Regions from separate parts of the Homo sapiens genome. Here region 2 is linked to region 1. Evidence: promoter capture Hi-C in 16 types of primary human blood cells and fetal thymus (Javierre and others, 2016). All regions are on one chromosome and are shown on one strand. The core of a region is centred on a gene start or on the middle of the fragment in contact, and the rest is flanking DNA. Distances in the headings are between cores, read along the strand shown. Region 1 holds the start of KRTAP8-1 (keratin associated protein 8-1). Region 2 has its middle 38 kb from the start of KRTAP19-8.

Region 1 (6,003 bases), core at 2,058-4,557:
TAAAAAACCAACTCTTAGTTTTGTTGCTCTTTTCTGTTTTTCAGATTATATTTCAGTTATTTCTGCTTTGATCTTTATTCCTTTTTTCTTGGTAACTTTGGACTTAGTTTGTTCTTTTTCTTCTAGTTCCTTCAAATATAAAATTATGTTGTTTAGTTGAAATTCTAATTTTTCTTAATGTAGAGTTTATTGCTATAAACTTCTGTCTTAGAATTTTTGCTGCATTCCAAAATTTTGGTTTTTTTTTTCTGTTTTGTGTGTGTGTGTGTGTGTGTGTGTGTGTGTGTGTGTGTGTGTGTGTGGAGATATTTTTCATTCCTCATTTGACCCACTGGCTGTTCAGGAAATGTTTAAGTTCCTCATATTTGTGAATTTTCCAGTTTTCCTCCTGTTATTGATTTCTAGTTTCATACAATTATAGTTGAAAAAGATGCTTGATATGATTTCATTCTTCTTACATTTGTTAAGACTTATTTTGTGGCCTAACGTGTGATATACACTGGAGAATGTTCTGTGTGTGCTTGAGAAGAATGTGTATTCTGTTGCTGTTGGATGGACTATCTGTACACGTCTGTTAGGTCCATTTGGTCTAAGTTCAAGTACAATGTGTCATTATTGGTTTTCTTTTTGGATTACCCATTCATTGTTGAAAATGGGGTATTGAAGCTCTGTACTATAATTATATTTCTATCTATTTCTTTTTTCAGGTCTATTAATATTTGCTTTATATATTTAGGAGTTTAATTTTTTTGTGATTTTTTGAGCATCTCAACAAATACTTTTGTACTTAATTTTATATTTATTACATTGTATACTTTTTAAGAAAAAGGGCTTTCAGCATTGTATACTTTCAGGCTTTATGAAAACCTTGCTCTTTCTTTGATAAGCCTATTATCAGAATAAAGCTTTCATAGGCTCAATATAGGATTAACTTCGCTATTAATTTTTAAATGACTTGTTGATAAATGATATGTTTCCCTAAAATTTTCTTCTGTTAGAATTTTCTGTAGACTTTCTAGAGAAAATCCAAGCCATTCTCTGTAAATAGGGCTTAAGTTTTAAAAAAGACAACATATTTTAATTACTATTCATGTTCAGAGCTAGGTTTTGTGCTGCAGAAGGCAAAGCTAGCATCTTGTCAGATTGGGTAGGCGAATGGGAGAATTCTTTTAAATAGAGCAACATAATTGACCTTTGGCAATATTAATTCAAAAATTTTAAATTATCCATTATACAATGCTATTTTTTGTCTAATTTTTCTTTTTTCCCTAACATTACCAGCTTTTCTATCATGAAACACAGCAATGTGATGCCAGTAGAAATAGTATGTAAATCATTCTATGATTTTTAGGGAATGATCTGTGGTTGAATACCTTTATGTTTTGGGAATAAATCTAATTTCAATTCCCTGAACTTGTTTAGCTATAAGCCACATATCGTGTTTGAATTTTAATTACTGAATCCCCATAGGCAGCCATCCAGGTTTGCTCACGAAGCAGGGTACTGTAGGTGTTTTCATTCTCCAGAATGTGATTATTACGCATTGCATATCTGTATCAAAACATCTTATGTACTCTATAAATATATAAACCTACCATGCACTCACAAAAACTAAAAATAAAAAAATTTAGGCCAGGCGCGGTGGCCCACGCCTGTAATCCCAGCTCTTTGGGAGGCCGAGATGTGCAGATCACTTGAGGTCAGGAGTTCGAGACCAGCCTGGCCAACATGCTGAAACCCTGTCTCTACTAAAAATACAAAAATTAGCCTGGCGCAGTGGCATGCACCTGTAATCCCAGCTACTCGGGAGGCTGAGGCAGGAGACTCGCTTGAACCAAGGAGGTGGAGGTTGCAGTGAGTCCAGATTGCACCACTGCACTCCAGCCTGGGCAATAAAGCAAGACTCTGCCTCAAAAAAAAATTATATATATATCTATATTTAAAAAAAATGCCTCTGCTGTAATTAGTCTACTGCTGGCTAGAACACTGGCATGGTTTTGAATTTTCCAAGTGTCTCATCTTGTTCTTGGATTCAGCCTTTGATTCCTAGCTGCTGATAGCAGGGAGCAAAGTTACCTCTGGGTTATGAAGTAAAATCTGGGAGAGCTCATGTGTAATACATATCTGTTTTGTGGCCTTCTAGAATGATTCCTATTATCTCTGTGCCTATTTCTGTTCCATATGCCCTCTTTGGTATTTGTTCTGTAAGTTCTCTACTAAGTGCCACTGTAAGAAATCTTAATGCAGGTGTCTGAGAATAATATATCAGGTCTTACATGATCCAAGATAGTTTTGATCAGCCTTATCCCTCCTTTAACTCATGCTTGAGAACTGACTCTCTGTTTAGAAAGGAATAACATTCCTTCTTTATCCTGGGGTGCATGATCATTGTAAAAGTGAAATAACTGATTTCATGTTGTCATCTGGCCCTTTATAATATCATCACATTTGTCAGACAATCTAGTTTCATTAGATCTAAGAGAAAAAAAATTTTAAATCTTACAATAAATTTTTTAATTCATTTTTCTGTGTTTACCTTATTAGTTTCAATGTTTAGTTTGAAATATGTTTCAGGCCAAAAAATTAAATTTGTTTGACAATTCAGTACAAGGATTAATCCAAATACTCCGTTTTAAAATCTCAATACTATTAATTCAAGTAGTCTTCTAGAAATGTGATGTTAGGTATAGTTTAGGAGGGGACTATGATTAAGATTACACTTTTAACCAGTTTCCCAAACACGGTAGCTGTAGTAGAGGAAAAAAAAAAGACTCTTTCTCATGAGTTCCATTGCACTTGTCTTTCATATTCCAAAAAAGAGAATCCTTGAAGCAGGTGAATACTAAGACATACTTTAATTTTGAGAATTTTGAGATAGACTCACTATCCATTTGTTATTTTATATATTAATGTATTTAACACATATTTATTGAATTTCAACTGTGTGTTGTGGAAATTCAGAGAGCAAGAGGACTGCATAACAGCTAACAACCTCAGAATATTTCTTGATATTATATACCTGCTTACAGAGTTATATGGGGTCTATAAGACAGAGTGCTTTGAAGTCCTGGCAATAATTTTTTTTTTTTTAGGAAGGGAAATAATTTGTTTAAAGGCATCTTCTCCCTGTATTGCATCACACGAGAGCTTTCTTAAGCCACTGTAAAGACATCATAAGCAAGAGCAAAACAAGTTAATGAGCTTTTTAGAATGTAAATTGGTGTCAAGAATGAAAATGAGGGCTTTGTGTTTTTCACCACCCACCAGAGCTGGGATATATAAAGAAGGTTCTGAGACTAGGAATCCATCCCACTGAGGAAACGCACTCTGTTGCTACCTAAGCCCTCCACTCCCGACACCATGCTCTGCGACAACTTCCCCGGGGCTGTCTTCCCAGGATGCTACTGGGGCAGCTATGGCTACCCGCTGGGATATAGCGTTGGCTGTGGCTATGGCAGCACCTACTCTCCAGTGGGCTATGGCTTCGGCTATGGCTACAACGGCTGTGGGGCTTTCGGCTACAGGAGATACTCGCCATTTGCTCTCTACTGATTGGCTGAAATCCCCGAGGTGTAGCATCTTCTCTCCCTTGAAGGCTGAGCCCCACATCTCCAGGTTCCCCCCGTATCCACTCCTTCAGTCCTCATTTGCTCATCAACCTCAGAGACACTGCTTTCCAACTTACCTCGAGTCCCAGGGGAGGAAAATGAAAAAGCAGACGCTTCCTCAAGCTGCCTCCCCTGGCTGATGTTCTCTGGGACATTTTCGGAAATTTGACCTCCCACTTGTCATGAGCTACTTTTGAATTTTCCATGACACTCATGACTTGTGATGAAGTCATGGATATGTCTATCAAAATCTCAATAAATTTGTCTCAGCTGGTATAATATTCTCATGCTAGAGCGAAGTTTCCTTTCTTGGTGTGTGCATATTTTCTGTTACATGGGTGGTGGGGGGGAAGTGAATTTATTTTTCTCATGTGGGCATTAGGAACAGCCAGAAAGCAAAGAATTACTGATCCTGTGTGATAAGCAGGTAAGAGGGTGGGTTGCAGGTAATGACTTAAAAGGTTGCCTGTTTGAACCTTCTTTAAATTTTATGATGCCCACCTCCAACCCAATGGAGCACCATTTATTGCTCGGGGTCCCCTTCTCATCTCACTACTTCTGCTCCTCCGCAAGAAAACCCAACACAGGAGGAACTTTTTCAGTCACTTCCATGTTAGTCCAAATGAAATCCACTGTGTTCCCTTTCCCAGGGACTAAGGATTATAGACTAAAGTGCCATGCCCCCTAATGAAGGATGCTGGAGCATTGAGTAATAGAGAAGCCACAGACATCCTTTGGAAATCTGAGAGTTTTTAAGGTGAAGGGATAAATCCCCTATATCAAACCATCTAAGGTGTCTATTTTGTAGCTTTGAAGCACCTGGGTTATTCACAACCATGACAAGTTTCTTAATCTTTATAGAATCAACACCAGATAGCGAGTTTCACTTAAAAGATATGAGCTGTAATGAATATTTCTGAAGATGTATCAGCTTTTCTCTGTGTTCCTTTAGGGAAGGGAGCAATTTCCTTTTATAAGCCAGATAAAAAAAGTCTCAATCCTTCTATTGAAAACATCTTATGTATAGTACAAATATTCTTGGTGGTAACAAAATTTGGCTTAACCCTGCTTTTTTATTGAATATGTGCAAGTGATTATATTGCATATGGTTCACTTCGTAGTTAAAAACATAAAGACTATTTGGCGAGGTCATTTCAGAAGAGAGTATTTTCTCCACCATACTTTATCTAATGTATATCTTTTTTAAAAAATCGGGAAATAATTGATTGTTTTCCTTTTTAGCGATAGTAGACAAGGTTACAGCCAACAAAATCTCCAGTTTGCAACTTTCTAGCAGCCATATGTTAATTCATGCTGAGAATTGTGAATTAATTAAACATGCAGGTTAAAATAGAACAGAAAAAGAAAAGTGGGATTTTTCAGAAATTAGAGCATCAGATCGAAACTAGAAGGTTATCAGTCTGTTCTGTAAAGATGACTGACTTATATAAAAATCTGGGCTTGAAGGGACCTCAGAGAGCACCTCCTCTAGTGTTTTGGAAATTTCAGTATGCAGGAGAATTACCTGAGTAGCTGACTTAAAAATTTAGATTCTTATGCCTTGCCCCTAGGGATTCTGACTCAGTACATCTGGGATCAGGTCTAGAAATCTAAACTTTTAAGATGCTCCTGATGACTTCTAGTACAGGTGGTCTGAGACCCACACTCTAAGAAGCACTGTTTCAGGTCATTACAGATGTACACTACCCACCCACCCACACCATTTATTTATGACACTGAGTCTTGATAAAGGAAAGTCTTTTACTCAAAAAGTGTCTAGCACATCTCAACAAGACAAGGACAGAGGAGAGAAGATACTTTACATCCCCAAAGGAGTACAGGAGGTACAACATCTGTGTTTAGCACTTTTCAACTTGAGTTAATGTGTGGTTGCTAGAAAGTTCCAAACTGAAGATTGCGTTGGCTGTAACAATGTCTACTATTTTTAGACAGAGAAAGGATCTATTAGGTAGATATCCAGTAGTCTGGTGCTGAAGGCTCAGATGCCATGACCTGCTAAAAGGAAAAAGTATGTTATGTAAGGATTTTATAAATTCACTTTCTCCTATTGCATAGAAGTGTACAAATTCCTAGTGTGCCTACATTACTTAATATTATTTAATGATTATTTTTAAAAACTGAAATTCAGTCTTTTTAAATGCGTATACCAAGATCCCACCCATGCACATTCTGATGGGAAGATCTATGGGGTCTGGGGATTTGTATTTAAAAAAATCCCTGTAAGTAATTTGGTTTTATGCCATCAATTTAAAACAATTACAGGGTCTGGTTTCATGGCTGTTCTTTTCTGTCTTTTTTAGTTCTCTCCTTTTATTTTGAATTTAAAAACCAAGATAATTCCTCCATATTTATATAGAATTCATAAAAAATGAAA
Region 2 (6,003 bases), core at 1,063-3,562, 260 kb before region 1:
AGGACATGAAGCAATGTCTTTACCTAGTTAACGTCATGTTTGGTACGTTCTGCTCCTCTTTTCCCATGTCAACAAAGCTATTACTTTGTGCACCATTTCCCTGAAGGCTGGAGGATTGGCTAGAGATGCTGATAGGAGGCAAGATTGAATTACCAACTTTGAACTGAAAAGATGGGTGACTCAAAGCCACAGTAGCCAGGACTGGGTGGGGAGATATCATAGAAAACTGAACCACAGATAAAATTCATGTTTTGATTTGTTCTTTCACTTTCTCTTGGACTAACTTTAAAACCAAAAACCGATGAGAGTCATCACTCAAATAGATACTGGCTTTCAGGCTGTTCTCACAGAAAACCTCAGGCATTGCTTATGTTCTTGGGGTCTGCGTTGCTTTGTGTCCTGAATCAAGTCAGTTGCAAGTGAAAAAAAGGTCAATAAACTCAAATTAATAAAGCAAGGACATATTATCTCACTTAACTGAAAAGCTCGGGGGTTCCAGGGGTGTTTTGGGGTGTTGCCTTGATGTCTCTGTTTTCAGTTCTGCTCTTTTCTGTGCTGATTCTGATCTCAGCCTGATGTCCCTCTGTGGTCTCAAGGTAGCTCCCGACAGCTCCCACTAATCCCCAGTCCTCTCTTCCCACCAATTTCAACAAGAATCCCATACTGAGTCTTCTGCTGGCACTGAAGGGTTATTATCTGCAGAGCGACATGCAAATAAAACTTTTCAGAAGATGATGGTATTGGCGGTAGTGTTGTTAATGTGTATAGGCCTGTGTATATGGCACGGCAGGCAGTGGAAGAAGAAATGATTAACAATGGTTTAAGTTGTCTGCTTAAAACCAGGTGTATTTGTCTTCTGTGGTTTCTGTCACAAATTATCACAAATTATGTAGCTTAAAACAGAAACTTATTCTCTCAGAGTTCTGGAGGCCAGGAGTCTGAAATGGGGTTGTTGTCAGGGTCAGGGCTATACTCCTTCTAGAGGCTCCAGAAGATATTCCATCCATTGCCCCTCTGGCTTCTGGTTGCTGTCGGCATTCTTGGGTGTGTGGTTGCATCTCTCCAATCTCCACCTCCATGGTTACATTGCTTCCTCCTATTCTCTGTGTCTTCCCCTCTTCTGTCTCAAATTTCCCTTTGCCCTTTGTTTATAAGGACACTTGTCATTGAAGTTAGGGCCCACCTAATTATCCAGGATCATCTTATCTCAAGATTCTTAATCACAACTGCAAACATACTTCTCCCCAATAAATTAACATTTAAAGGTTTTGGGAATTAGGATGGGAACGTATCTTTTTCATTTTTATTCATTTTTTTGAGACACGGTTTCCCTCTGTCACCCAAGCTGGAGTGCAGTGGTGTGACCATAGCTCAGTGTAGGCTCGAACTTTTGGGCTCAAGAGATCCTCCTGCCTCAGCCTCCCTAGCAGCTAGTACTATAAGCATGCAGCATCACATTCAGCTAGTTTTTTTTTTTTTTTTGTAGAGATGGGGTCTTGCTGTGTTGCCCAGGTTGGTCTTGAATTCCTGGGCTCAAATGATCCTCTCACGTTGGCTTCCTAAAATGCTGGGACTACTGGCATGAGCCACCACACGTGACCCTATTTTTGGGGACCACCATTCCACCTATTATACTATAACAGGATATGTATAAATGTTCTCCTGAAATTCTCTCTAGGTCTTGAATATTTTTCTCTGGTTGCTTAAGCTCTAATTTAAGTCATGTTTTCAGAGCCAATTTCTCCAGCAGACCTGTAAAAGATCTAAACTCTACTTTGAATTCTCAAATGGAGGTGAGGGGCAAGACTTGAAGGAAGTGAGAGGAACTGATTTGGAACTGTGATTGCTGAGGAGGGGAAGAAGGGCATGAGGGCAGGTGGGGAGCAGACTCCAGAGAGTGCAGTTTACTGGCTCCTAAGAGAGGCTGTTGCTTGAGACCATTCCTCACAGACCCTGCCTCGCCCATAGGCTGACAGTAAGAAACCACGTGTGATAACCTTTTCAGAGTCTCCAGGGAAATTTAGCTTTCTGTAACAGCACAAAGCTCATACAAACCCATCTCCTATAAGTGTTTGCATATAGGGTTGCATATTTCATTTATAATAAATTAGATTTTTTCTCATCCCAGGTAGGAAATCATTTCCTAAGAGTTGCTAATCTTACCGAATGAAAGATAATTCATGAGCTTCATGTTTATCTGGTGAATATAATAACATATTGCAAAGAAACAGGTCTTCTGCATTTCATTTTCATGCAGCCACTAGTTTTGGGCCCAACTGTGCTCTGCTCATGGCTGTGATCACCGTAGCTGCTTCTCCCAGCACCCGGTGGTCTGTGATAATTAGCAAGTGCACCTGGAAAGTTCTAGAACTGCTTGGAAATGGAAGTGCCAAGTGATATGATTCTGCGACTACAAAGGATATGTGAGGATTAAGGCAGGGCTGGTCCTGAGCCCTCATGCACTCTGTCTTTGGGAGAGTCACAGCGAGTTGAAAGTTTCACACTAGTCTATAGCCTTTGGGTGAGCCAGGTCTCATGGTGAGAGCTTTGCACAATCAGTGCAGAAGGACAAATAGGGAATGTAGTTCCCCTCAGTTGCACTGGGCCACCTGTGATATGCTCGTGGAAGAGCCCCGGGGTTGTCTTCACCCTTCCTGCCATCTTGTCAACTTTCAAGTTTTCAGGGTCACCAGGGCCTCTGTCTTCTACATGGAAGACAGAAGTCTGATTATCTTTCCATTGGTCTCTGCCTTCGTTCTTCATGCCACCAGCAGGATTATCTTCTGAAACTTTATACACAAGTCATTCCTCAGTAGATAACCCTTCCCTGCTTGCCTCATTGTCACCAAATAATGTTCCAACTCGACAGCCCAGCTCTGAAGACCCTCCTGGGTCTGGGGGTTATCTACCCCTTAAAAATATATTTTTCTTTTCTCCTTAATGAGCCGTCAACTCTTCCACATCTTTAGCTCTTTTTGCTACTTTGAATGACCTCCACTAAACTGTATTGTCAGCTTCCTTATTAGTTGAATGGGAATGACATCCTTAACTCTCCCAGACAGAGCGGTTGATTAAATGGACTATTTAATGGAAAGTTTCTAGGACAGCACCTGATGCACTTATGTGATTACAGCGTGATTACGCAACCTCCATCTTTGGGAATTACTTATTACAAGCTCTCCCTCATAGCTTAGCTTGAGAGCTGCTGCTTCTCTGATGCTGTCGTTGTCCCCTCAGCTTTGGGAGATTTTTTTCCCACTGAAATTCAAAGCACTTCATCGCCATGGCATAATTTGGTGTTATGTACAAGTTACTGTGTGCTTGGGTTTGGTATCGGGTCCAATTTTATGTGCCTCTCAGTGCCCCATGTTACATCTTTTCTTTCCCATAAGTCTTGAACCATAACTTCCTCTGTGGCAAGGGCTCTCTGGGCAGCTGTGCCCCTGGCTCACTTCCTACACATCACAGAGCTCACTGTGACTATGCAATGTGGCTGTTGTGACCTCCACTGTGCTCATGGATGTAGAACCACAGCATATCCAGCACTAAAGTGATAGAGTCTTGGTCCTGTGGCCAAGAAGAAGCAAGATGGAAGCCCAGCTAGTTTCCCTGGGGATGAATTGTCTTAACTAAGTTCCTGGGGCCTTGAATGTAGTAGCTAAAGACAGACCAGGGGGGTTTGAGGTCCCATGCTTCCATCAAGGTCTGTCCTGCAAAGGCATCCCTAGAGACAGTGGATCAGTTGAGTTTGAACTTGGAGTTAGCTAAGACCAGGCTCACAGGGCTCTGGCCTTCCTACTCCTTTAGAACTGAGATAAAGACTGTGTTCAGGGAGTGATGTCTGGTTTCCCAATGGCTTCCCAGAGCGACCAGGTAACACAACTTATATGAACTTGGACTGATGAGAATGGGAGACAAGAACAAGCCTACAGATCAATTGCTCTCCTTCCCTCCCCATGTGGTTCTAGTTTCCGGGTAGCATCTGGAGGCTGTCCATGTGATAGGCACGATATACTTGATTTTGAAGATGTGCCCAGCTGGGAGAGGATACCCTTCTATTTGCTATGTTTTGCCACTCTACTGTCCTTTCCTCCACTCCAGATTCCAGTGTGTTGCACTCCTCAGGAAAACCGGATGCAAGCGTTGCCTAAGTTTTTGCTTCCTAAGGAAGCATGCCCTGAAAATTTTTATCTACCATCTCTCTTTTTCCTCCTCTCCTCCCTTTCCTTTCCCTCTCATTTCCTCTTCTCCTCTGGTCTTCTCTGTTTTTCTTTCTTCTCCTCTGTTACTTATTTTGTTCAAAAACCAAATCATAGAAATTTGATTTTTCTAGGGAAGGCTCCCACATTGCTTCACTCTGAGGCTAAAGCCCTAAGGAATCATGGGGGCAGTAGCCTTCTGAGTGGGATTCAGGATGCTGAGCTTGATAAAATATTCTTTTTCATTTTTAGAGACAGAGTGTTCCTCTGTGGCCCAGGCTGGAGTGCAGTGGCATGATCATAGCTCACTGCAGCCTCAAACTCCTGGGCTCAAGCAGTCCTCCTGCCTCAGCCTCCCAAATATCTGGGATTACAGATGCTGGAGCTTGACAAAATAAACGTGGGTACACCCCAATTTTAAGTGATCCTCTGGTTTTAACTTCGTTTCCTTTATAAAAGAGGTTCCCATAACCACCTATCACATATAAAAATTATTTGATTAATACATTTCAGTTGGCGATGAACTTTGTAGTTGCAGCCGCAGTGTAAGAAGTCAAGGGAGAGGCTGGCCACAGAGGAGAAGACATGTACCCGCTCTCCCCTGGAAGGTGGGGGTAGTGGCATCTTTCCTTTGCTCTGTTTTTATCTCTCTGATGGGAGCAATGTGAAAAATTCTAAAAATCCTCTATCAGCACTGGGGAGCTTCACAAATGTCTGACATTGCCACATAGTCATTTGTGTGTTTGTGTGTGTGTGTGTGTGTGTGTGTGTGTGTGTTTGTGGTGGGGGAGTGGTGGTAGGTAGAACAATGGCCCCCAAATGTCCACATCCTAATTCCTGAAATCTGCAAATATGTTACCTAACATGGCAAAAGGGAGTTTGCAGATGAGATTAAGTTAAGGGTCTTGAGATGGGAAGCTTTATTGGATTACTGTGGTTGCCTGTAATCACAATTGTCCTTATTAAGAGGGAGGCAAAAGTGTCTGAGTCACAGAGAGAGATTTGAAGATGCTACCCTGCTGGCTTTGAAGATGGAGGGAGGGGCTATGAGCCAATGAATGCAGGCCACCTTTAGGAGTTGAGAAAGGCCAGGAACCAGATTCTCCCCTCCAGCCTTCAGAATGAACTTAGCCCTACACCTAGACACCTAGCCCTCCTGACACCTAGATTTTAGTCCAGTTAGACTTTAGACTTACAGAACTATAGGACAATAATTCTGTGTCAGTTTAAGCCACTAAGTTTGTGGTAATTTGTTGCAGTAGCAATAGAAAACTAATATGGGGGGTGTTGAAATACAACTTTTGAGTTACTTGTAGTTAATTAGTTAAGTATAGTTATTTGTTGATCTCCTCTGTGGCGGGCACAAAGGTGATTCTTTCCCCTTGGAGCCTGCAGTCTGGGAAGCAATTATTCTAGCGAGTTCTACTGTGCATAGCTGTATTAAATTGCCTGTTTTACTTGTTGGGCAGGATATTTTGGTTAGGATATTTCTTTTTCTCCATGTGATTTTTTTTTTTCACTAAGAAGTCATTTCTAATTTAAACCATTGAGCACTTTACATTTATTATGTGGAAGGCATGATAAATGGTTGCTAGGGAGATAATTCTCTTCAAGGGGTTTCCAATCTATTAGTAAAATTAGAAAGAGTTTAAAATAGACAACTAACTCTACAAGGTGGTGTATGATTTTTAATAGGATGGGATTCGGCCAGAAGCAGAACCCAGGACTCCCTGAATCTCCCTTCAGCTTCCAGCCTCTATCCTAGATAGATGCCATGTACAGAACCCTGCAGGTGTAAGGAATT

The links. The method cuts DNA at HindIII sites, captures the fragments that hold promoters and counts their contacts. A CHiCAGO score of 5 or more calls a contact.
Region 2: a fragment that was not itself captured here is called in contact with the fragment with the promoter of KRTAP8-1 in region 1 in 1 of 17 cell types (M2 macrophages); the score reaches 5.7 in M2 macrophages.

What each region holds. Positions count from the first base shown.
Region 1 is chr21:30,810,578-30,816,580 of GRCh38, reverse strand. It overlaps KRTAP8-1 (keratin associated protein 8-1), which reads left to right and starts at 3,307. Exons shown (of 1, transcript NM_175857.4): 1 at 3,307-3,884. The coding sequence starts at 3,361. The coding sequence ends at 3,552. The HindIII fragment of the contact is 5,395 bases long and covers 908-6,003 here.
Region 2 is chr21:31,073,200-31,079,202 of GRCh38, reverse strand. No RefSeq gene overlaps it. Among named protein-coding and RNA genes, the nearest start is that of KRTAP19-8, 38 kb to the right of the region's middle. The HindIII fragment of the contact is 5,615 bases long and covers 1-5,119 here.